Linked DNA regions of Homo sapiens: all the other regions are linked to region 1. Evidence: promoter capture Hi-C in human tissues and cell types (Jung and others, 2019). All regions are on one chromosome and are shown on one strand. The core of a region is centred on a gene start or on the middle of the fragment in contact, and the rest is flanking DNA. Distances in the headings are between cores, read along the strand shown. Region 1 holds the start of PEMT (phosphatidylethanolamine N-methyltransferase). Region 2 overlaps TOM1L2 (target of myb1 like 2 membrane trafficking protein). Region 3 overlaps MPRIP (myosin phosphatase Rho interacting protein). Region 4 overlaps FLCN (folliculin). Region 5 overlaps TOM1L2 (target of myb1 like 2 membrane trafficking protein). Region 6 has its middle 12 kb from the start of DRG2. Region 7 overlaps COPS3 (COP9 signalosome subunit 3).

The links. The method cuts DNA at HindIII sites, captures the fragments that hold promoters and counts their contacts. A contact is called where the count stands out against the background at its distance.
Region 2: a contact is called between a fragment that was not itself captured here and the fragment with the promoter of PEMT in region 1, in 2 of the 25 tissues and cell types used here (dorsolateral prefrontal cortex and neural progenitor cells).
Region 3: a fragment that was not itself captured here is called in contact with the fragment with the promoter of PEMT in region 1 in 1 of the 25 tissues and cell types used here (dorsolateral prefrontal cortex).
Region 4: a contact is called between a fragment that was not itself captured here and the fragment with the promoter of PEMT in region 1, in 2 of the 25 tissues and cell types used here (dorsolateral prefrontal cortex and pancreas).
Region 5: a contact is called between a fragment that was not itself captured here and the fragment with the promoter of PEMT in region 1, in 1 of the 25 tissues and cell types used here (dorsolateral prefrontal cortex).
Region 6: a fragment that was not itself captured here is called in contact with the fragment with the promoter of PEMT in region 1 in 1 of the 25 tissues and cell types used here (hippocampus).
Region 7: a contact is called between a fragment that was not itself captured here and the fragment with the promoter of PEMT in region 1, in 1 of the 25 tissues and cell types used here (dorsolateral prefrontal cortex).

Annotation. Positions count from the first base shown.
Region 1 is chr17:17,590,247-17,593,597 of GRCh38, forward strand. It overlaps PEMT (phosphatidylethanolamine N-methyltransferase), which reads right to left and starts at 1,462. Exons shown (of 7, transcript NM_148172.3): 1 at 1,285-1,462. The coding sequence starts at 1,380. RefSeq lists enhancers at 907-1,648, 1,214-1,603. The HindIII fragment of the contact is 9,919 bases long and covers 47-3,351 here.
Region 2 is chr17:17,926,704-17,930,326 of GRCh38, forward strand. The region is part of intron 1 of TOM1L2 (target of myb1 like 2 membrane trafficking protein); the gene reads right to left. Among named protein-coding and RNA genes, the nearest start is that of TOM1L2, 44 kb to the right of the region's middle. The HindIII fragment of the contact is 3,577 bases long and covers 1-3,092 here.
Region 3 is chr17:17,181,230-17,184,605 of GRCh38, forward strand. The region is part of intron 23 of MPRIP (myosin phosphatase Rho interacting protein); the gene reads left to right. Among named protein-coding and RNA genes, the nearest start is that of PLD6, 23 kb to the right of the region's middle. The HindIII fragment of the contact is 4,078 bases long and covers 1-3,376 here.
Region 4 is chr17:17,209,049-17,212,817 of GRCh38, forward strand. It overlaps FLCN (folliculin), which reads right to left. Exons shown (of 14, transcript NM_144997.7): 14 at 3,164-3,769. Among named protein-coding and RNA genes, the nearest start is that of PLD6, 4.6 kb to the left of the region's middle. The HindIII fragment of the contact is 3,855 bases long and covers 1-3,237 here.
Region 5 is chr17:17,898,046-17,901,788 of GRCh38, forward strand. It overlaps TOM1L2 (target of myb1 like 2 membrane trafficking protein), which reads right to left. Exons shown (of 15, transcript NM_001082968.2): 3 at 551-629. Among named protein-coding and RNA genes, the nearest start is that of SREBF1, 63 kb to the left of the region's middle. The HindIII fragment of the contact is 3,262 bases long and covers 82-3,343 here.
Region 6 is chr17:18,074,518-18,078,048 of GRCh38, forward strand. No RefSeq gene overlaps it. Among named protein-coding and RNA genes, the nearest start is that of DRG2, 12 kb to the right of the region's middle. The HindIII fragment of the contact is 4,809 bases long and covers 1-3,531 here.
Region 7 is chr17:17,268,482-17,271,773 of GRCh38, forward strand. COPS3 (COP9 signalosome subunit 3) reads right to left here. Exons shown (of 12, transcript NM_003653.4): 3 at 2,415-2,527; 4 at 2,277-2,326. Among named protein-coding and RNA genes, the nearest start is that of COPS3, 11 kb to the right of the region's middle. The HindIII fragment of the contact is 3,862 bases long and covers 1-3,292 here.

The sequences.
Region 1 (3,351 bases), core at 212-2,711:
TCTTCTTCCTGTCCTCTGCTGAGCACCCATCTGGCCAACGGTCCTGCGCTCCCTCAGGGCCAGCGGCCCATCTCCTCCTGTGCCTCCTGGAGGGCTTCGCAACTGCCTCCCTCCTCTGGGGAATCTTGCCCCACTGACTGACCTTTCGGCTCTCAGATCCCAGGTCCCTCCCTCGCAGATACGGCAACAGGCTCTCTTGGGATTTCAATCCCGCCTTCCCATCAGCTACTCTTCAAAACACTAACTGGTATTAGCTCCTTCAGAGAACTCTCTGGCTTTCCAGGCCTACAATCTCCCTCCCTAGAATGAAAGCTCAGTGACAGAAGTGCCCTTAAACTTCTGAGTGACACGAGGCCCTCAGCCGGCCCTGAATCAATACTGGCTGGATCAGTGAGTGAATAAATGCACATGTGAGTAAGGAATGAAGGGAGCGAAAGAACTGGATTAGAAGCTGCTTGGGGCAGAGATGTGCCTTACAGGCTTCATGAAGAGTGGGTGATGAAAAAGGTAAATGGAGCATCTAAGAGGAAGCTTTGATAGAAGGGAGAATGCAAGAGAGGTTGGAAATTGGAATCCATTGGAATTGGGAGCCTGGGGAGATGCCAGGACAGGCACTCTCTGGCCTAGGACTCTGCAGAGGGCAGCCTCAGCAGGCAAGCCAGGCCCCCAGCTTCTGGGGCCGGTCGCACCCATTATGGCCCCGAAACGGCTGGGTGGTGGTCTGCAGCCTGCCCAGGGCCGGCTGGGAGACAGGCAGGGTCCCCACCACTCTCTTGCCTCTGGGCAAAAGCTGGCCTCCTGACCCTGGGGGATGGACGGGAGCAGGGGCCACACAACACACTCCCAAACATATAATCGGCCTCCTTCACCCTCGCCCACGCTCAGTCACACACAGCCTCGGTCATACACACTCACACTCACTCTCCGGCACACTCTCAGAGCATCACATAATTTCAGTGAGACACAATCCCAAAGACTAACACGGACAACCTCTGAGTCTCACACAATCTCAGGGCCACACACAGGCACACAATCAGACGAGCTCAGGAACGCCCCCGTCTCTGACACACGCAATCTGAGGTTTACACGCGCGCGCACACGCACACACACAGACACCAGCCGGCGCTCCCGCACGCGGCTCCCCCACCCCCGCCACGCCACGCCCCCATTGCCTGGGAACTGGCGGCCCCGCCCCGCAGCGTTTGAGGCGCCGCAAGCCTTCACGCCCCTCGGGCCTTGCAGATCCCTCTCCCAGTTTCCGCGGCGGTCCGGTGCGGTCAGTACCTGTCTAAAATCAATATTGCCGAGGCCTCCGCAGCAGTCAGGCCCTGCCACCGAGCTGTTCGTTACCTCGGCTCCCGGGTTCCCAGATCTCTTCATCCGGGGGCCGCCTCAGGAGGCACCACGCGGGCCCCGCTGCAGCCACGCGCCCCCGGAACCGGACCTATAGAGCCGGGTAAGTGCCGCCAGTCGGGGCGCTTTCCCGGTGACCCCCAACATATTCCGGCCTTCTGGGAAATGTAGTTCCCCGTCACCGCGAAGTGCCTCTTTATCTGGGGGCTCGCGACAGCGTCTAGAGGAGCCGAGAACTACAAGTCCCAGTGTGTTTCGCCGCAGAGCCTGCCGGTTCCGCTGCAGCTACGTAGCAGTATCCCCTTGGATCCGGCCTCCCGCCCAGTGCCTTTGGTCGCCGGCTGCCGCACCCGAGCCTGTAACTGACCTGGCGTCCCTGCCCTTGCCTGGCGGCGGTGGGGCTAGAGGCCGGGGGCCGCGGGTCGTAGCTATAAGCAGCTTCCCGCGCAGCCTCCTGCGGACTTGGACTTGGCCCGGGTCACACACGCCCAGGGCCCCACACGCCCAGGGCCCCACGCCCTCTTCTGAAATTCGCTTTACTCTGGGGGCGGTGCGCGACGAGCACTGCCTAGAGCTTCCCGCCCCCGCGGCGCCCAGGCTCTTTAGCTCGGCCAAAGACCCCTCCTCCACTCATTTTTTCCTTCATTCATTCTCTCATTCACTCTCGAGTATTTTCTGAACCAGACTGTGCGCTGAGGGTACGGTAGGGAACAACACAGAGTCCCCCGCCCTCGCTTCCTCCTGACTGAGATAAAAGACAAAATGTGAATAAAGGGTTATAATATGGATGAGTACTGTGGTGGAAAAAACGGGGTGGGTCAAATGGTACGGAAGGATGCTGTCTTAGAATGTGCAGGGGAGGTGCCAGATGTGCCAAGTGTGAGGGCAGGGCAAACAAGGCAAGACGAATGGTATGTACAAAGGCCTGGAGACAGGACGGGCACCTAAGGAACAGAGAAAAGACCGGTGAGCTGTGGAGTAGTGATGGAGGGGGTCAAATGGAGAAGAGTTTAGACGATCGGGTCCCAGAAGAACCCCTTTTGTAGGCCGGGTGTGGTGGCTCATGCCTGTAATCCCAGCACTTTGGGAGGCCGAGGTGGGCGGATCACCAGAGGTCGGCAGTTCGAGACCAGCGTGACTAACACGGTGAAACCCCGTCTCTATTAAAAATACAAAAAATAGCCGGGTGTGGTGCGCGCACCTGTAATCCCAGCTACTCAGGAGGCTGAGGCAGGAGAATCGCTTGAACCCAGGAGGTGGAGGTTGCAGTGAGCGGAGATGGTGCCATTGCATGCCAGCCTGCGCGACAGAGCGAGACTCCCTCTCAAAAAAGAAAAAAGCCCTTTTGTAGCCAGGTGTTATGTAATATGGGGAAATAGACTGAGAGGTTCCAAGATTTGCTCAGTCACCCAGACTGCTGGGGGCCCAGACAGGACTTCTGCAGTCAGCTGCTTCCTGCTCCAGATGGCCCGTTTCTCTCCACCTTGGCCCACAGCACCTACCAGTGTTGAGCATTTACTGAGCAGCCACTGTGTGCTGCTTTAGAGGTAGTCCCAATCTTCACAACATCGCTAGGATGGGGCAGGCCAACCGAGGAGACAGGAAAGACACTGGCTTTGGAGCATGCACTATCTCTGTGACTGAGCCCACCTTCATTTTCCTCAAAAGTAAAAGGGAAATACATGTTGGTAAAACTCATCACCCAGGAACTGGCCTGTGGGAAGTGCTCAGTAGGCATTGGCCCCCGGCAGGGCTGGGGACACAGGCTCAGGGCTGGTTCTCTGACTTACCACTGTTACTAATGAGTGTCGGGACCCTTTCCCTGCTCAGTGTCCAGGCAGAGCTGCTAGAGGCAGAGCCATTTCTGAAGGAGCCCCCCGCAGCGGGAGGGCTTCTAGCAAGTCTTTCCCCTCCGCCTACCACACATCCACTTCACTGATGTTCCAGTCTTCTGACCTAACTGGTCACTCCTGTTTTGTTAAGCCCAGAAAACAAATT
Region 2 (3,623 bases), core at 54-2,553, 340 kb after region 1:
AAAAATTAGCTGGGCCTGGTAGCACACGCCTGTAATCCCAGCTACTTGAGAGGTTGAGGCACAAGAATCGCTTGAACCTGGGAGGCAGAGGTTGCAGTGAGCAAGGATCACACCACTGCACTCCTGTCTGGGCGACAGAGAGGGACTCTGTCTCAAAAAAAAGGAAGAAAGAAAAAGAAAAAGAAATGTAACCATATTTAAATATGAAGAAGAGCCCCAACACAAGCATGTATTCCTGTTTATACAATATTCAGGGCTAACAGACTTATCACACACAGGTTGTGTAACTTATTAATGACAATGTGACTTTAAACAGTAGTTCTAAGTGGGTCACCTTGAATAATACGAAACAAAGCTTGCCAAGGGAAACATGCAAATAAGATCAAAATCCAACAGGGAATAGGCATTTTCCTAGCTTTTCGGATTTTTACTGTAGAAAAATAAACACAGTATCTATCTAGTTTCTTTAGCACTAAAAAAACCAACAGCATGAAACTGCATTCTTCAATGGGGGTGGAGTCCAAAGGGACAGGCCCGACATTATTTTCAGCACACTGTACCAAGTCAAGCTGGTATGTGGATAAAGCAGCACAGCTGGGTTTACCATGTGAGTAACGGGCAGAGAGAACCTACCACCCTATGTGGCGCAAACCACATGAGGCCAGCTGCAGAGGCTGTGGAGAGAGGCCTCTCTTTATCCCTTCTTCTTTCCCTCCATCTCTTTCTGAGGCCAGGACCTGCATGCAGACCTTTCTTGATAAAGAACTCAACCTCAATGTGATACATCAAGGGAAACATTCCCTGAAGAACATGGTGGAGCAAATAAACATTTGGCCTCGTGAGAATGGCCACAGAAAACACTAGGGAATCTTAAACTGTCAGTTGGATGACTAGATATTTTATGATATTAAGGATTATGATTAATTTATTTTAGATATGATAATAAGCTGTTGGCTATACTTTTTTTTTTTTTTTTTGAGACAGGATCTCACTCAGTCACTCAGGCTGGGAATGCAGCGGCACAATCTTGGCTCACTGCAGCCTCAACCTTCCAGGCTCAAGTGAGCCTCCCACCCTCAGCCTCCTGAGTAGCTGGGACTACAGGCATGTGCCACCACACCTGGCTAATTTTTGTATTCGTGGTACAGCCAGGGTTTCACTATGTTACCCAGGCCTCCCAAAGTGTTGGGATTACAGGCATGAACCACCACACCCAGTCAGCTATACTTTTAAAAAGATTCCTTATCTTTTAGAAATGCATACTTAGGTATTCATAGATGAAATTATATGATGTCTGGGATTTACTGAAAAATAATCCAGGATAAAAGTGTGTGGGGCTATGGATGAACCAAAACTGCCATGAATTGATAATTGTAGAAGCTCAATGATGAGTATGTGGGGGTTCATTATAGTCATCTTTTTCCTTTTGTATATGTCTGAAATTTTCTGTAACAACAAAAAAAATCAGTAGGAGACAGCATAAAACCATTCATAACTTTGACCCGGCAATAGCCCCCTAAGGAAATAAATAAGGGGGAAGGGGAGAGCTGATTCTGCAAAGATGCATAATTGAGAAAAACACTGCTGCTCCCAACAAACGAGAAGATGGCTAAGCAACGAGGGTACATCAATAAGGCAAAAACGCTACGTGGCTTTTTAAAATGATAAATACTTCAGCCTAGTCGCTAAGTGGAAATCGGCATAGGAATGCTAAGAGGAAAACAGGCAGGATAAAATATTATGTGCATACTAATCACCACAAGGTAAAAATGCATGCTCACATAATGGAAAGGGTCAAAAGAGAACACAGAAGGCGACACCCTCCCTTTAACACTCAGCTCGTTGCCTCCTCTCAGTGAGGGCCCCAGACGGCCCCCGCGTGAGCATGCACACACGAGATGAATTAATTGCACTCTTCTGGGATCTCACAGTCCTCACTTGCTGAGGCTCATCCAGCCCCTATTGCTTGTCTAATGGTTCCTCATGGACCTGCCTTCCCTGATGCACCATGAATTTTACCAGCACACAGTAGGTATTCAATAATGTGTGTCAAACAGAATAGAACATAAATAGCTGCTGTCTGTGTCTCAGGATTTTTTTTTTCTTTAGAGCTATTCCCACCCACAGTAGCCATTCAGGAAAGGCATTCCTCAGTATCAGAGAACAATGCTTCCATTTCTGATTCACAAAGTGCTTCTGCTACGTGGGTTTATGAAGCCAGCAAGGCAAAACAAAATCAAGCAGACTTTCTGTCTAGATCCTTGCTGGACCACACAGAAAAATCCCATTTTGTTTTGCAAGCTTGTAACAAGTCTCATTGCTATGGTTCCTAATACCAAGTCTGAAGATTCCCCAAGCACTGCTGTGAGAACGGGCCTTTCCTTGGCTACTTAAAAATGCTGCATGGCTGCTCTCTGTGGCTGGCACTATAGTAAAGGGTACAAGCCAGAATGCAGTCGGGACTGTGGCTGCTCAGCAGCGTCAGGCGGGGAAGTCAAGAACTGCCCATCTAGACAGAAGTGGGCAGCAACACAGCCTGGGCCATGCTCCACCCAGTCTGAATGTTTCTCCATCTCTTCTGCTTAGAGCTGCTTTGAGCAGCAGGCTTTGGGTGGGTGAGAGGGGTTGATAGGGATATTCAAGAATGTCAGAGCCTGGGCGTGGTGGCTCACGCCTGTAATCCCAGCACTTTGGGAGGCAGGTGGATCACCTGAGATCGGGAGTTCCAGACCAGCCTGACCAACGTGGAGAAACCCCATCTCTACTAAAAATACAAAATTAGCCAGGCGTGGTGGAATGTGCCTGTAATCCCAGCTACTCAGGAGGCCGAGGCAGGAGAATCGCTTGAACCCGGGAAGCGGAGGTTGTGGTGAGCCGAGATCGCACCATTGTACTCCAGCCTGGGCAACAACAGCAAAAACTCCATCTCAAAAACAAAAAAAAGAATGTCAGGAAGAAATCCATAGACTGTCATTTTTCAGAGCAGTAGTTAACTTTTTGGATAAGATGTTAAAGGAAGAATACATTCCCTTTGAAAATCTGATAAGACCTTTCCAGAGAATTACACACACAATTCTGCACACACTTTCAACAGGTTATTCACCAATCCCTGGCCTCAGTCAGATACCACTTCTGCCCTAGAGCTTTAGCTGTGACTGTTGGTATGAACACTTAGACAAGTTAAACACAACATGAATTTCCACAACAGCAAGGCAGCTGCGATGAGTGAGGTACTACAGAGAGTGAGTGACAGCTCTGTTGGGAGGGCTGTCTCTGTGTCTTTATGAAGACCACTAGCAGAGATACAGAGCCCATGCCTGGGCACACACAGGAAGGCAAGAGCACCATGGTTAAGACACTCCATTCCAAAAACAAAACAAAAAAGACACTCCATTCTAGTTCTTCAGAAATGAGACTGCCAAGCCTGAAGTCCTTAAGGTTATCAGACCATGAGACAGCCTCTTTTTGTTGGACTGGAATGCTGACACTACTCATTATGCAGTCATTTTACCGAGTGTTGCCTTAAGTGCTCCAGAAAGTGGGGTATAGAGAATTACCAACATACAAACTTTAGCCCATTCTCCTAACAAAAACCAAAAAATTGGTCCAGATGGTCTTAGGAA
Region 3 (3,376 bases), core at 126-2,625, 410 kb before region 1:
GTGCCATTGAAGGCCCTATGCCAGAGAGGAGGTGGGGGAGGGCCCATGGTGGGAGACACCCTGAGAATGAGTAGTTGCCGGCTCAGTAGCTTGATCTCGTTCATCCCGGAATGAGAACATGGAGGAAAGCAAGAACCACGTCTTCCTCCCCATGCTGGCCCTTTCTCAGGCACACCCACAGCACCCCGCCGTCCGAAGGACTTCATCCTGAGGCTTGGTTAAAGAGTTGAAGGTTTTAAGCCTAGTCAGTTTGGTTTTATTTTTCTACAGTTCTAAGTCCCCTATACCCAAATATGGTTTAGGCTTGATTGAAAACTTAGCTTGGGCATTTTTCTTTAAACATAACGTTTTGTTTAGCAAAAGGAAACTTGTTCTTTTTTGGTTCACGGTTTTCTTACTGAAGATTCTACTACTTATTTGAGGCTAAACTGTAGCTAGTATCTTTGAGCTTTTCTTGAAGGAGTTTGAAGTTCACTATTAGTGATTTGGGCTTTTGGACCATGTCTATAAGTGACATGGGACCGGCTGTCACTGACAGGACCCTTCCAGGGAGGCTGTGCAACACCCACGGGCCCCTGACAGTAACTCTGTGCAGTGAGTGGGTGGGGGCCTCTCACAGTGGCTGGGAACCAGCCAGAGCAGGGATGAGGGAGCAGACTGTCTGGGCCCCAGGGCAGACTGAAAAGGATGGAGAGAAACCCCAGGATGGGGTCCTCCTCCTTATGTGTTTTTAAGTTGATGTTTGGCTTGGCTGGGTTTCCGTAATAAAAATCCTTGGAGTGCAGGGCTAGTCCTGCTGGCCCCAGCAGAAAGTCGAGGACTTCCTAGATGTCTGTGGTGCAACAGGGCAGGATGGGGCCGTGTTCGCGCTCCCAGGAGACATTAGGAGGCACAGGCATGGGTGGGTGTCATCCTTTTCCTCAACTGTATCTGAAGACTCCACCCAACCCTTCAAGAAGATGGAAATGCAGTTGCCCAGAAACCGTACTTCTCAGTGGTGTTTTTTGATGTGGCATCTGATGTGCACTGATCTGTGTCTTTTGTTCTGTTCTGTTTTTCTGTCCTGCCTCGCTCGAAAGGACCGCAAGTCTCAGCTGCTACAAAATCAAAGACAGCAAGTTGCTTAGGAGCAGCACAGCCTTTTCTGGGATTGAGACCAGAGAATGCTTCCCTCGGGGTTCTTAAGGGGCCCCCGTGTCTGTGGTCAGCTCAGTATGTGGGGCTACAGGAGGCACTCAGTGGAGACAACAGCCTAGGGGGAGATGAACCCCAGAGGGAGCTGGCTGAGCCTTGGGCTGAGCAGCCACCGGGAGAGAATCCAGAGGACGTAGAGAGAGAAACAGCCTCCTGCAGCCAGTGTGGGAATAACGTAGGGGATTTCACTTACTTCCCACCCTTGGAATTGTAGCAAGCCCAGCATCACCTGAGCCTGAGCTCTGCCCTTTGTCACTGGGGCAGGAGCCAGTAGCGAGCATGCTGGGTGCTGTGGCTGTCAGGGCGCTCCCCTCCCCTGGGCCTGCTGTAGCAGGAATCTGGGGCTTCTGACGCAGTGCCTGCAAGGAGCAAACCCAGGCCTTAGGAGTGATCAAACTCACTACAGTCCTGACAGAAAGTCCCCAACAAGCAGGAACCGGGATGTCAGTGACATCCCCCAGCCATGCTCCGGGGCCTGCCTCTGAGTAGCACTTAGGCTCAGGGCTGCCTGCCTGGCTTGGCCCCAGCCCCTTCAATGGTGACCAGATGTCTACCCAGGTCCTCTGCAAGACTGACTGCTGTGAGAACCCTGCACTCTGTGGGGAGGGACCCCCCAAGGGCACCTGGAAGCAGGCATGGGTGTTGAGGTACATCTGGGCTCAGAATGGGAGATGGATTTTCCCCCCATTCCCCCAGCCACTCTCTGTGGCAGGCTTCCAAAGAAACCCTCTCAGAAACACACAATTATCAAGCTGTGACAACTGCTTGAGGTGAGGCTCACCTGGACCAGTGAGGTTGTTTGTTTGTTTTGAGACGGAGTCTCGCTCTGTCGCCCAGGCTAGAGTGCAGTGGCGCGATCTCTGCTCACTGCAAGCTCCGCCTCCCGGGTTCACGCCATTCTCCTGCCTCAGCCTCCCATGTAGCTGGGACTACAGGCGCCTGCCACCACGCCCAGCTAATTTTTTGTATTTTTTAGTAGAGACGGGGTTTCACTGTGTTAGCCAGGATGGTCTCGATCTCCTGACATCGTGATCTGCCCGCCTCGGCCTCCCAAAGTGCTGGGATTACAGGCGTGAGCCACCGCGCCCGGCCTGGACCAGTGAGTTTTAAAATGCTTAGCAGCAGAACCCTGTATTTAAAAATCACATTGTTTATTTATTTACACAGACACATAGCTCCAGAATATAGCAAACAAGCAGGTCTGTTCTGGGTAGAGCTGGGTGGGGTGGGGGACAGTGGAGCTCCCCCTTCCCTTGAGCTTTGGAGGGAGCCTCAAGCTGACCAGCCCATGCTCAGTCCCCAGTCTATCACACCAGAGTCTCCAGGACAGTGCCAGAGTGTGCCTGAGCCTAAGCTGGCGACTTCCCAGTAGATGGGGTACAGCCTGCAGTTTCACGTTGCTCAGGTTTTTGGTTGAAACTGGTAGAATCAGGCAGACCCTGAGCTAGAGCCCATCCCTTCAGCTTCCAGTTTCTCAGTAAAGCCTGTACCTGCACCAGCTCTGGCAAGGGTAAGCCACAGGGAGTCAGCAGGGCTGAGTGTGATGGCGACACTTAGCGTGAAGAGGGAGATAAGTGAAGAGCCACAGCACTTTCCAGTCAGTACTGGAATGCCCTTCATTTCCAGTCATTCTCTGAAAAGTGCTCTTCCTTTTCTTATTCAGAAATTAAATCATTGAGGAAAGTCTGTAAGAATGAGATGGGAAATACTCTGTCCCCTAGTTAGTAAGATCTCATTCATCTCTGGACATACAGATTTAAGCTTTAGCAAGATTCCACGTGAACAGAGTATTGGTTTTATGTTTTGAAAATCTTACTAGATACGTTGGCGTGTTCCCACATCCCCATAACACTCACAGGCCTCTGATGAGGGAATGCCAGAAATGGGTCTGAGGGCAGCAGGTGCTGCGGAGGCACTGTAGGAGCGAGGCCCTGTCCCGGGACACCCATCCTGCTGGGGATTCCCTGGAGCATCTGGTCCTCCTCAGCTGAGGCTGTCAGGTGAAGAATCTCTGGAGCTGGATGTGGACAAATCCATTCACAAGACAAGACACGGGGATGGGCAGTCTCCTTGCTCATTGCACTGTTTTCCCTGGCTGGATTCGTTTGATCACTGCTTCTCTAAAGAGCCCTAAGCTCAGAATTTAGCTGCTTAAACACATGGTCTTGTCTCTCTGATTTTT
Region 4 (3,769 bases), core at 60-2,559, 380 kb before region 1:
AGGGACTTGGAGTTGTGGAGGTATAAAGAAGGACTCAAATCCCTCCAGAGAGGGATAAACAAAAATAAAACTGGGGGAAAACAGTTTTCAAAAACAGCCACTTCAGGGCTGGAAATCTACCAAAGGCAGACAACAAAATGAGAAGCTTTATTTGATTTTTATTTATTTTTTGTCTTCCAGTTTCTATTTTTAACTTTGTCGGTATATAGTAGGTATATATATTTATCGGGTACATGAGATATTTTGGTACAGACATGCAATTTGTAATAATCACATCAGGGTAAACAGGATATCCATCACCTTAAGCATTTATCCTCTTTTGTGTTACAACATTTAGTTATTAGTTTATTTATTTATTTATTTATTTGAGACGGAGTCTTGCTCTGTTGCCCAGGCTGGAGTGCAGTGGTGCGATCTCAGCTCACTTTGCAAGCTCTGCCTCCCAGGTTCACGCCATTCTCCTGCCTCAGCCTCCCAAGTAGCTGGGACTACAGGTGCCCGCCACCACGCCCAGCTAATTTTTCGTATTTTTAGTAGAGATGGGGTTTCACTATGTTAGCCAGGATGGTCTCGATCTCCTGACCTCACTATCTGCCCTCCTCGGCCTCCCAAAGTGCTGGGATTACAGGCGTGAGCCACCGTGCCCGGCCTAGTTTTTTATTCATTTATTTTTCAGATGGAGTCTTGCTCTGTCAGCAGTGACGTGATCTTGGCTCACGGCAACCTCCGTCTCCCAGATTCAAGCAATTCTCCTGCCTCAGCCTCCAGAGTAGCTGGGATTACAGGCACCCACCACCACGCCCGGCTAATTTTTGTATGTTTAGTGGAGACGGGGTTTCACCATGTTGGCCAGGCTGGTCTCGAACACCTCACATCAGGTGATCCGCCCACCTTGGCCTCCCAAAGTGCTGGGATTACAGGTGTGAGCCACCGTGCCTGGCCGTTTGTGTTTATTTTTTATTTTTTGAGACAGAGTCTCGCTTTGCTGCCCAGACAGGAGTGCCATGGGGCCATCTCAGCTCACTGCAACCTCCACCTCCCTGGTTCAAGCGATTCTCCTGCCTCAGCCTCCTGAGCAGCTGGGATTACAGGTGCCTGACACCACGCCTAGCTAATTTTTGTACTTTTAGTAGAGATGGGAGTTCACCATGTTGGCCAGGCTGGTCTCGAACACCTGACCTCAGGTGATCCGCCCACCTTGGCCTCCCAAAGTGCTGGGATTACAGGTGTGAGCCACAGTGCCTGGCTATAATAACCATTTTAATATGTGTGTGTATGTCATTAACATCATGTCGTATACCTTAAATATATACAATTTATTTTTTAAAAGCTTATACAAACTATATTATCAGATAAGGGGTTAATTTCCACAATATATAAGAGCTCAAGTGATTCTCCTGCCTCAGCCTCCTGAGTAGCTGGGACTACAGGCGTACACCACCAGCCTGGCTAATTTTTTTTTTTGTATTTTTAGTAGAGACGGGGTTTCACCATGTTGGCCAGGCTGGTATCAAACTCCTGGGCTCAGGTGATCCTCCTGCCTCGGCCTCCCAAAGTGCTGGGATTACAGGCGTGAGCCACCATGCCCGGCCCTGAGTGTAAGTATCTTGAATGTAAAATCAGGAAACCCTTGACTGCCTTCAAACACATGGGGAAGGTTCAAGATCTGGAACTTGTTTTCTGTCTCTTCCATTTTGTGAAAAGCTACAAAATCAGGAACCCCTATTCCCTCACAAGGACAGCAGAGTCTGGCCTGGTCTTGGGCTGGCATAGGTTCAGCTCAGCCTCCTGCTCTTCTGCACTCATGACCAATAGGAAAAATCTTCAAGAACTGCATGCCTGTGGGGAGAAAAAGCCCACAGCTGCCTAGAAACACCAGTTGGCAGCTGGGTGCGGTGGCTCACCCCTCTAATTCCAGCACTTTAGGAGGCCGAGGCGGGCGGATCACGAGGTCAGGAGTTCGAGACCAGTCTGGCCAACATGATGAAACCCCATCTCTACTAAAAATACAAAAATTAGCCGGGTGTGGTGGCATGTACCTGTAATCCCAGTTACTCGGGAGGCTGAGGCTGAATTGCTTGAACCAGGGAGTCGGAGCTTGCAGTGAGCCGAGATCACACCACTGCACTACAGCCTGGCAACGGAGCAAGACTCTGTCTCAAAAAACAAAAACAAAAACAAAACCACCAGTCGGCATAGGGCCTTGCCTGCCCCCTCGCCAGCAAGCTCTGTTAGACATGGGAAATCCAGGTCACACATGCCCCTGAAGTGAATGCAGAGCTAACTTACACTGGGCTCCTACTTGCCAAGTGGATTCAGCCACTAGACTGGCAGACAACTGGCAAAAACTGAGCATAGAACCACGTTCCCAGGAATGCCATGCACGAGAGAAAGACAGGAATCTGTACCCGAAGCCGGGGAGGACAGTGGGTGGTCATCTCTCCCTTGACCCACATTGGCCAGGGGGTCCCCTCCCACTCGAGGTAGATGACTAAACCGTGAACCTGCTGTTTTAGGGATTGCCACGGTCACCCAGGGTGATTCCAGCCATCTTCCTCTCAGATGGACATGTCTTTTAAATATCATCATTATTAAGGGATGAGCCATTTCTAATGCTGAACAAAATGAAAAGCACATGGGCATAGGTACTCAACAGATGTCCTTGGGATAAATGAGTGTTTGCTTCTCTCCAACACCAACTCCAACGACTAACTTGGAGAAGATTGTCTACGATCATTATAGCAGCTTAACTGTGCGAATTGGCCACTCACTGGTATTTTGTTTTGTTTTTTGAGATGGAGTCTCACTCTGTTGCCCAGGCTGGAGTGCAGTGGTGTGATCTTGGCTCACTGCAACCTCTGCCTCCCGGGTTCAAGTGATTCTCCTGCCTCAGCTTCCTGAGTAGCTGGGACTACAGGCATCTGTCACCATGCCTGGCTAATTTTTTATATTTTTAGTACAGACAGGGTTTCACCGTATTAGCCAGGATGGTGTCGATCTCCTGACCTCGTGATCCGCCTGCCTCAGCCTCCCAAAGTGCTGAGATTACAGGCATGAGCCACTGCGCCCGGCTGACTCACTGGTATTTTTTAACCATAGTATTTCCTGTGCCTGAGCGCAAATAAATAGTAGGCATCAAACCAATAAAACCATGTAGTAACAATTTACAAAAATACATCTTTATTGTGTTCCAATGTTGTTGCATTATACAGATACCTAGTTATATAAACTTGGTCTTCATGTTAAATATAAACACAAAAAAACTAGAAACAAATCAGCAAAACCATCAGAAAATCCCTCTGAGCCATGAATCCTTATTAAAAATGTATAGTGGGGGGTACCTGTAGCTGTATGTTGAAGCAGGAGGACTGCTTGAACTCAGGAGTTCAAGACCAGCCTGGACGACATAGCAAGATGCCATCTCTTTAAAAAAAAAAAAAAAAAAAAAAAAAAGGGCCAGGCACAGTGGCTCACGCTTGTAATCCCAGCACTTTGGGAGGCTGAGGTGGGTGGATCACCTGAGGTCAGGAGTTTGAGACCAGCCCGGCCAACACGGTGAAACCCCGTCTCTACTAAAAAATACAAAAATTAGCTGGGCATAGTGGCGGGCACCTGTAGTTCCAGCTACTCTGGAGGCTGAGGCAGGAGAATTGCTTGAACCCAGGAGGCAGAGGTTGCAGTGAGCCAAGATCGTGCCATTGCACTCCAGCCTGGGCAACAAGAGTGAAACTCCCTCTCAAAAAAAAAAGTACAGTGGGATGATGAAATT
Region 5 (3,743 bases), core at 463-2,962, 310 kb after region 1:
CTCCTGAGTAGCTGGGACTACAGGCACCTGCCACCATGCCTGGCTAATTTTTGTATTTTTAGTAGAGACTGGGTTTCACTATGTTGGCCAGGCTGGTCTTGAACTCCTGACCTTGAGATCCTCCCGCTTCAGCCTCCCAAAGTGCTGGGATTACAGGTGTGAGTCACCGCGCCTGGCCAACATTTTTACAAAGAGGAAACTGATATCTAGAGAAGGAGTTGGTCTCAGTCTCAGAGCAGGCTGGTGACAGAAAAGGGACCCACCCAAAACCTTTAGCTCCTCTGCTCTGGGCTTCTGTACCTGACAGCACTGCACACACCTTATCTTCTGCTCGTATACATTTACCAAATTGAAGCTCACCACTCCCTGTTTCAGAGGACAGGAAAACCCAAAGGCAATACCAGAAGGCTTTGCTGGACTCCAGTGGCCCAGGCACCAAGCCATTCAGAGGTTGTGCTAAGTGGGCAGAGGGAAGGCCCTGTGAGGGGGGCAAGGCCAGGAGCAAGGAGTTCCCCAGATGACTTCTCTCCTCAAGGAGAATAGCACTCACTGTTAATGCCAGCATCACCTCTCTGTAGTTCCGGTTCCCGTTGAGCCGCTTCTTCAGGGCTCGAATGGCATCCTTTGGCCTGGAAAAAAGAACAGACATATAAAGATACTTACAATCCCACTTGAGGACACGATCCTACAGATATGTGAACTAGTATATATGCAAGACTATTTGCTGGCTGCAGCATGTTTGTAAATGTAAAAGACTGGGAACAAACTGAATGTCCATCAATACACAACAGGTTAAATTAAATCATTGACACAATGGAATACTATGCAGCTGCAAAAAAGAATAAAGAAACTCATGCACCAATATACACCAAACTCAAAGACATGTGCATAAAGTTCTTTGCATAACAGTGTACAAAGCTTGCTATTAGTTGAGTTATAGAAGGAAAGCAAACATACATAGCACAGGTGCCAGCGTAGGGAAGAGACTCTCTAGAAAGAGCTATAACAACCTGGTAACTGTGGCTGCCCCTAAGGAAGGGAACCAAAGGCGGAGGGAGGTTTTTCACTGGACTGCCTTTTTGCAGACCTCTTGAATTCTGTATCACATGCAAGTATTATTTATTCAAAACCCTAACTAACCCACTGGTGTGTGGGTACATAGAAGAGAGTTTTTCCAGAGAAACCATATGAGAGACACAGAAGAGAGCGTGCCAGGTCCTTGTGAGCCCTGGATGCCCGGCTCTTCCTGAATTCCATGGAACTCCTTTTCCCAGAGAAAGCTTAAGTGAGTCTCCTTAAAACCCAACAAGTTTTGTGTTTTTAGGTGACAGATCTGAGGTGGATTCCCAGATAAAATCTTGCAGAATTATAGACAGTACTCAGTTCACAAATGGGCTCTGTCCAAAAGTTGGAGTGGAGCTGTTTGGAAGTTGGAGTGAGTTCTTCCTTAATTACTCTTATACCTTAGAGTCAGGATTCCCAGGCAGCCCTCTAAGTATACATATTACATGTAGGTCTTGTGTCTAACATGTAATTTAATTTATTCTAACTCAGGATTCAACAAAGCTGTGGGCCTAGCAGCTGCCCCTGGCACAAAGCCCCTGTGCTGACCTGACCCATCACCCTATGCTCTGGGGAGCCCTCAGTCCGGCTGTGGGCCAGCGCTTTGCAATCACACATGGGTTCCAGCCTTCCACTAATCTATGTGTCAATATACTGGTCTTTCCCAGCTTGCACGTTTGTTAAGTCAGGGATCTCCTATTCCTACAGTTTTAAAACATTTATACTCTACCAAATGAAAAGGCCCCTTCAAATGTGTATGAGGAAGTTGAGGAGGGGAAAGGGTTGATGCTCTGCTAATCAGCTTAATTTAAGAGAAACTGGGCCGGGCATGGTGGCTCACAGTCTGTAATCCCAGCACTTTGGGAGACCAAGGCAGGTGGATAACCTGAGGACAGGAGTTTGAGACCAGCCTGGCCAACATGGTGAAACCCCGTCTTTACTGAAATATACAAAAATTAGCTGGGTGTGGTGGCAGCTGCCTGTAATCCTAGCTGCTCGGGAGGCTGAGGCAGGAGAATCGCTTGAACCTGGGAGACGGAGGTTGCAGTGAGCTGAGATCACGCCATTGTACTCCAGCCTGGGCGACAAGAGTGAAACTTCATCTCCATAAAAATAAAAAAGAGAAAGTGTGTCCAGCATTATGGCTCATTCCTGTAATCCCAGGACTTTGGGAGGCCGAGATGGGTGGATCACTTGAGGTCAGGAGTTCAAGACCAGCCTGGCCAACATGGTGAAACCCTGTCTCTACTAAAAATACAAAAAAATTAGCTGGGCATGGTGATGTGTGCCTGTAGTCCCAGGTACTCTGGAGGCTGAGGCAAGAGAATTGCTTGAACCTGAGATGTGAAGGTTGCAGTGAGCTGAGATTATGCCACTGCACTCCAGCCTGGGTGACAGAGTAAGACTCCATCTCAAAAAAAAAAAAAAAAAAGAGAGAAAGAAAGAAAAAAAGTTTAAGGAGCAAGGCTACTAGAAGAAAATTTTAAAACACCCTGAATCACCTGTTTCCCATTCCCAGCTTGACATATGGCTGCCCTGTAGGAATTCTTGGCCCCTGGGTCAAAGGGCTGATGAGACAGACACAAGGCTCCATGGGGACTGGGCCCAAGGCCAAGTATGTCTGCAGTACGGCTGCCATTTCCAAAAGGGGATGCTGATTTCTGCAAATATGGGACTTAACCGGCTCTCTGCTTTGAAGGCTGTTTGTGGCATGAGAGCTGATGAAATTCAGTGGCTACTGGCCAACAGCATGGACTGATTTCCTCTCTCCAAGGCTCTGCCAAACCACTGCTGTCCCTGACCCACAGCTGCCACACCCCTCAGTCCTCTCTTCTGTCCTCTTGAACTTCCATGGAACAGGAAAATAGGAAGAGCGCCTGAGGGCTGCAATCATTTCTGGCTGGCAGAGGACCAGCACACTCAGGGCTCTCCTGGTGTGGGGGCCACGGGGTGGGAAATCAGACAGTCAGCAGCTTCCTGGATGAGGTTTAAAATGAAAATTCATCCATAGGCTCTGGGAAGTACTGGCCGAGAGTGATGGGTGAGCACAAAAGCAAGTATTTATCTCTCTCCCCGGGGGAAAAGCTTCAGAGAGGAGGATCAAAGTCATGTCAAAGGAAACACAAAGTTTCAAGAAGCTGCAGCAGATTAGATAGTGTGGAGTTGGAAACCAGGAGAAGAGACAGAAGCATGTGTCAAGAGCCAAGATGGAGCAGAAAGAAAGGATCAGGAAGAATCAGTGGCCTGTGTTGAGATGGCATCAAGCCCTAGCAGCTTTCAGGGGAAAGGTCAGGCTCCTCAGGCAGTGCTCACAGCCTCGTGATTTGGCCTCTGGGCCATGATCAGGCTCCTCAAAGTCTCCCTGGACCCTAGACTTATAAGAACTCTTCCCTGATCCCCAAACAAGCCTCCTGTCATCCCTCCAGCCACAGCCTTTGTATCTTTGTCCTTCAGCTTCAGGACTACTCTCTGGAAAAGCTTTCTCCTCATCACCCCCAAGGAGGACATGGCTGCCCCTCTTCTGTCACCCTGAACATGCCCTCCCCATTATTATCTTGCTCTATTGCATGTCTTCAGTTCCTCCTCTGTGCCCTCTCCAGCTTAGAAGATAGAACACAAAGATTCTATGAGCTGAGGAGGGTCCAGAGATGGCCATGTAAATGACCCAGGTCAGGGGTTCC
Region 6 (3,531 bases), core at 161-2,660, 480 kb after region 1:
TAGTACAGCTATATAATGAAACACCTCTCAGCATTTCTTATAAAAAGAAATGTACTATAGCGATACAACACAGATGAATCTGGAAACATTATGCTGAGCAGAGGAATCTAGACACAGAAGACGATATGCTGTGTGATTCCGTTCAGATGAAGTTGTAGAAAAGATGAGTCTAACTGGTAGTGATAGAAAGCAGATGGGTGGCAGCCTGGGGCTGAGTTGGGGTGAGGACTGAGTGCGGGGGGGTGGTGGTTTCTGGAGTGATAGAGATGTTCTGTGTGTCAAATGTGGGGGTGGCTGCATCGCCCTATGCATTTGTCAGAACTCATTGAATTATGCACTGGAGAATGGTGTGTTTTATTGCAAGTAAATTATGCTTAAAAAAAAGTTGAATCAAAAATATTTTTAAAAACCATCCATTAATTCAGAAACAGTAGGGATGCATTGTACAAAACTAGAAAATTCAGACCAGCAAGAGAAGGAGTTTTGCTTACTTTTCCGAAGGGAGGTGTGACAGCATATTTGTATGCTGTTGAAAATGACACAGCAGAATGCAAAGTTCAAGCTGTAGGACAGGGATGGCTCAGGTAGAAGCACTGAGAGTTTGTTTCTGGGAACAAGCAGCCATGCCAATGCTGGCAAGTTGGAAGTTTGTGGAAGTTCTTGTCTCATTTCTTCAATGGTTCTTAGTGAGCTTGAGAGCAAGGTAGACAACCCTCCTGAGGATGAGGATAGGGGGAGAGGTATTGGGCCTTTGAGGAGAAAGAAGGCACGAGATGGTTGTCCAGGAGAGGAAGAGTGGATGGATGCGGAAGTCAAGCATGCCCCAAGCAAGCATGGGGATGTTCCCAACCCAGGTGCAGGTGCAGAGTAGGAAGAGGCCTGTGGTTTTGCAAGTACAGGTGAGTGAAGAGTCAGGGAGTTGTTGTGTGTGCAAGGGAGTGAAGTAAGTGAAGACCATGGAATTCAAGCTGGATACGGAGGGAGAGAGGACTTCAAGGGGATGAAGGTGGTAGCACCAATGGATTGGAGATCTTGGTGGGCTCAAAGGATGGATGGAATCAGAATTCTAGAAAATTGGGGCTGAACTTGGTGGCTCACACATCTATAATACTAGCACTTTGAGAGGCCAAGGTGGGAGGATCACTTGAGCCCAGAAGTTGGAGACCAGCCTGGGCAACATGGCAAAAACCCATCTCTACAAAAAATACAAAAATTAGCGAGGCATGGTGGTGCATGCCTGTAGTCACAGCTACCAGGGAGGCTGAGGCGGGAGGACCTCTTGAGCCCAGGAGGTGGAGGTTGCAGTGAGCTGAGATCACACCACTGCACTCCAGCCTGGGTGACAGAGTGAGACCCTGTCTCAACAACAACAACAAAATAATAAATAAAAATAGAAAGTTGGAAAGGGAGAAGCTTTCACATTCAAATTTGGTCAGACCTCTCTTTACCTTAAAAGTGTTCCTATTGCCCACAAGATCAAATCCAGACCCCTCAGGAGAACCTCAGGTGTGACCAGTCCTCTGTGACCTGTCCAGCATCCATCTGGCTTGCTGGAGATGCTGCCAGACCTGCAGAGCCCCCAGGCAGAGCCCACAGGAAATCCCCCCAGCCCTGCTCATTCCCACTTTTTGACCTTGGCCTGACTTACTCTCTAAGGGAACCATCTTCCCCAGAACATTTTTCCTGATGTTTCTGCCTGCACCATCCACTCTGTATTAGGGTCCACCATGCATGCTCCTGGACCCCATGCTGCTCATCTCTTTAGTGGGGAGGAATCTTACTCCATTAACTTTATTTTCCTTATCTCAAATCAGATTAACAGCCTGCATCGTGCCAAGGTTGCAGAAAATGACACCTGAGTGTTTCTTATTGGGACTCTCCCTTCACCTGGTCACAAAAGGGCCTCGTGTCAGTGTCTCAGGCTGTAGGTGCTGAAGCTCTGGAGAGATCCTTCTCATCTTTAGTCTCTCCAGTTACCATGCAAGGGCCCCTTGCCCAGACCCCTTTCCTTTCCCATCTAAATGGCAACTTCTACCACTCTTGGGGGCCAAGAATATTTGCCATTTCCCAAGACTAGGAACTCCTGGCCGGGCGCGGTGGCTCATGCCTGTAATCCCAACACTTTGGGAGGCCAAGGTGGGCGGATCACGAGGTCAGGAGATCGAGACCATCGTGGCTAACACAGTGAAACTCCGTCTCTACTAAAAATACAAAAAATTAGCCAGGTGTGGTGGTGGGCACCTGTAGTCCCAGCTACTCGGCAGGCTGAGGGAGGAGAATGAAGTGAACCTAGGAGGCAGAGCTTGCAGTGAGCTGAGATCACTGCACTCCAGCCTGGGGGACAGAGCAAGACTCTGTCTCAAAAAACCAAAACAAACAAACAAACAAAAAGACTAGGAACTCTGGGGCCTGGTCACCCTGGGTGTACCACAGAGCCATTCCCTGCTGCCACCTGAGGCCAATCATCCCTCCAATGCACCTAGAGAGGGCCCCCGTGCAATTGTCTCTGCCTAACCGTGTTCCATAAGGGCTGGGGCCTGAAGCTTCCTGTAAGAATGAAGACAGCATTTAGGAGGTCTACTGGCTTTGTTTTCTGGATTTCAGCCCAGAAGTTTTCTCTAAAACCCTCAGATGTTAACTCATCACAGAAGACACGACTAGGTTCAAAAGGACAAACAGCCCTACACACTACCCCAACTCCAGACGTCTGAGGTTACTGCAGCTTCAATAAAGTGTGCATCAATTAGAATTAAAATGCTCCTTTTTCCATCCTGGGTCACATGGCAAAACCCGGTCTCGGCCATGTGCAGTAGCTCGTGCCTATAATCCTAGCACTTTAGGACCAGGTGCCGTGGCTCAAGCCTATAATCCCAGCACTTTGAGAGGCCAAGGCGGGTGGATCTCTTGAGGTCAGGAATTCAAGACCAGCCTGGCCAACATGATAAAACTCCATCTCTACCAGAAATACACAATAGCCGGGCATGGTGGCGCACGCCTGTAATCCCAGCTACTCAGGAGGCTGAGGCAGGAGAATCGCTTGAACCCAGGAGGCGGAGGTTGCAGTGACCTGAGATTGCGCCACTGCACTCCAGCCTGGGCGACAGAGCAAGACTCTCTAAAAAAAGAAAAAAGAAAAAAAATATACAAATCCTAGCACTTTGGGAGGCCGAGGCAGGAGGATAACTTGAGCCCAGGAGTTTGAGACCAGCATGGGCAATGTAGTGAGACCCTGTCTCTATTTAAAACAAATAAACAACTGGGTGCTGTGGCTCACGCCTGTAATCCTAGCACTTTGGGAGACTGAGGCAGGTGGATCACAAGGTCAGGAGATCAAGACCATCCTGGCTAACACGGTGAAACCCCATCTCTACTAAAAATAAAAAAAATAAAAAACAATTATTTGGGCGTGGTGGCACGTGCCTGTAGTCCCAGCTACTTGGGAGGGTGAGGCAGGAGAATCGCTTGAACCCAGGAGGCAGAGGTTGCAGTGAGCCGAGATCGCGCCACTGCACTCCAGCCTGGGTGACAGAG
Region 7 (3,292 bases), core at 150-2,649, 320 kb before region 1:
GTGTCAAGTAAGGCATAATCAGTTTTTGGCAGACTAAAATATAGTCTCTTCCAAAATTGCTGGGCACGGTGGCTCACACCTGTAATCCCAGCATTTTGGGAGGCCAAGATGGGTGGATCATGAGGTCAGGAGATCAAGATTATCCTGGCCAACATGGCAAAACCCCATGTCTACTAAAAATACAAAAATTAGCCGGGCATGGTGGGATGTGCCTGTGGTCCCAGCTACTCAGGAGGCTGAGGCAGGAGAATCGCTTGAACCCGGGAGGCGGAGGTTGCAGTGAGCTGAGATCGCGCCACTGCACTCCAGCCTGGGCAACAGAGCAAGACCCCATCTCAAAAAAACAACAACAACAACAACAACAACAAAAATATATATATATATATGTGAAGAGACTAAAAATAGCTCAATAACTTACAGCTTTTTCAAAAACTCATGATTTTTCTTAACCATCTCTTTCAAACATGGTTACTTAGTACTACAAAATAACAACTGGTTCTATTTTCAGCCTCTTTCAAACCACTAATCTTAAATTTACTTTCAAATTAAAAAGAAACACCTGGCTGGGTGAAGTGGCTCACACCTGTAATCTCAGCCCTTTGGGAGGCTGAAGCAGGCGGATCACCAGAGGTCAGGAGTTCTAGAGGCTAGCCTGGCCAACATGGCAAAACCTCACCTCTATTAAAAATACAAAAATCACTGGGAGGCCGAGGCAGGCGGATCGCCTGTGGTCAGGAGTTTGACACCAGCCTGGCAAACATGGTGAAACCCTGTCTCTACTAAAAATACAAAAATTAGCCGGGCATGGTGTCAGGCACCTGTAATCCCAGCTACTTGGGAGGCTGAGGCAGAAGAACTGCTTGAACCCAGGAGGCGGAAGTTGCAGTGAGCCGAGATTGCGCCATTGCACTCCAGCCTGGGTGACAGAGCGAGACTCTGTCTCAAAAAACAAAACAAAACAAAAATCAGCTGGGAAAGGTGACATGCGCCTGTAGTCCCAGCTACTCAGGAGGCTGAGGCACGAGAATCGCCTGAAGCTGGAAGGTGGAGGTTGCAGTGAGCTGAGATCACACCACTGCACTCCAGCCTAGGCAACAGAATGAGACTCCATTTCAAAAAAATAAATAACTAAATAAATTTTTTAAAAATCCACATTATAAATTATGTATTATAAAAGATAAAGAATGAAATAACTGTTCAGATTAAGGGACACTAAAGAAACAAAGCAGTCTAATGCAATCCATGGTCCACGGTTTTCTTTTGCTATATAATATATAGTACACTGTCCAAACAGCTAATGTCCTTTTATAGCAAAAGACAGTCCTTTTCACTGGGGGAAAATCTAAATGGGGTCTGTCAATTTGTTGATGCATTATATTAACGTTCATTTCTGGGCCGGGCGTGGTGGCTCACGCCTGTAATCCTGGCACTTTGGGAGGCCAAGGCGGGAGGATTGCCTGAGCTCAGGAGTTCGAGACCAGCCTGGCAACATGGTGAAACCCCGTCTCTACTAAAATACAAAAAATTAGCTGGGCGTGGCAGCATGCACCTGTAGTCCCCAGCTACTCAGGAGGCTGAGGCAGAAGAATTGCTTGAACCTGGGAGGTGGAGGTTGCAGTGACCAGAGATGGCGCCACTGCACTCCAGCCTAGGCATCAGAGCGAGACTCTGTCTCCAAAAAAAAAAACAGTAAGAGTTCATTTCTGGATGCTGACCATTACACTATACTATGTAACAGAATGTCCTAATTTTTAGGCTTTACCCACTGAAGTATTTAGGGATAAAGAACAGCAATAGCATATGTGCAACTTACTCTACAATGGCTCAGAATAAAAGAGGAAGAGAAAAAAAAAAGAATAAGTGCGGTAAAATGTTAACATTTGGAAAATCTAGGTAAAATGTATGAGAATTTTTTATATTATTTTTGAAGCTTTTTGTAAGGCTAAAATAATGTCCTAATTAAAAGTTAAAAGAAAAAATGTAACAGACAAAACCCAGCATATTACAACATAAAGGGTACTGGCTTGGTAATTCCAACTACTTGGTAGTTCCAGCAGCAGCCTCCCTGAGGTGCCAAACCACCCCGTGCCTCCACCTCATTCAGGGGATGCGGGGACTGCCTGAGCTTACAGCAATGGCTGTGAGTGCTCTCAAGTGACCACAGATATCTAGGTGGTGGATGCTCAGTACTAACTGGAATCTTGATAAAGTAATTCATTGTGTAAGCTAGTTACATATTATAACAAAACTAGGAATACTTGAATAGTATTTCTTACCTGTTTTCTTTCCACAAGTGCATTTGTTAGCTGATGGCAAAGCCCAGCAACTAGATACAATAACAAAATATTCAAAATATAAATATAACCACAAGGGCAAAATATTTTCAATGGAGAATAAAATGTTATTTAGCTTACAAGTGTCTGTTGCATATCGAATGTGCTCCCCATTACAAGTGCTGATGAAGAGCTGAACCTGTGAGAATAGCGTTTCGAAGTCAGGAACACTGGGCATAGAAAACTTCACAAACCTAGAATAAGGAGAAAAGAATCAAATTACCCTGATAGTTCATGGGATAAAATACAGAAACAATGTATGCAAGAAATCCATCCTGCCTCCAATACTCTGTAAAATTAAATGAGCAACAGTATTTTTTAGAATTAAGAACTAGGCCAGGACAGTGGCTCATGCCCGTAATCCAAGCACTTTGGGAGGCTGAGGCAGGAGGACTGCTTAAGGCCAGGAGTTTGAGACCAGTCTGAGCAACATGGTGAGACCCTGTCTCTACTACAAAAAATAAATTAGCCAGGCGTGGGGGTACATGCCTGTAGTTGCAGATACTTGGGAGGCTGAGGCTGGAGGATCACTTGTGCCTAGAAGGTTGAGGCTGCAGTGAGCTATGATCATGCCACTGCACTCCAGCCTGGGTGACAGAGCAAGATCCAGTCTCAAAAAACAAATAAATAAGAACTAGAATCCATGAGATTTTCCTGACCTGGTTATTTTGCACAATCACTATACAGAACGGACACAAATAAGGGTTAAGAAAAATATGTTTAGGCCTGGCGCAGTGGCTCATGCCTGTAATCCCAGCACCTTGGGAGGCCAAGGCGGGAGGATCACCTAAGGTCGGGAGTTCGAGACCAGCCTGATCAACATGGAAAAACCTCGTCTCTACTAAAAATACAAAAAAATTAGCCGGGCGTGGTGGTGCATGCATGCCTGTAACCCCAGCTACTCGGGAGGCTGAGGAACTGCTTGAACCCGGGAGGTGGAGGTTGCAGTGAGCTGAGAT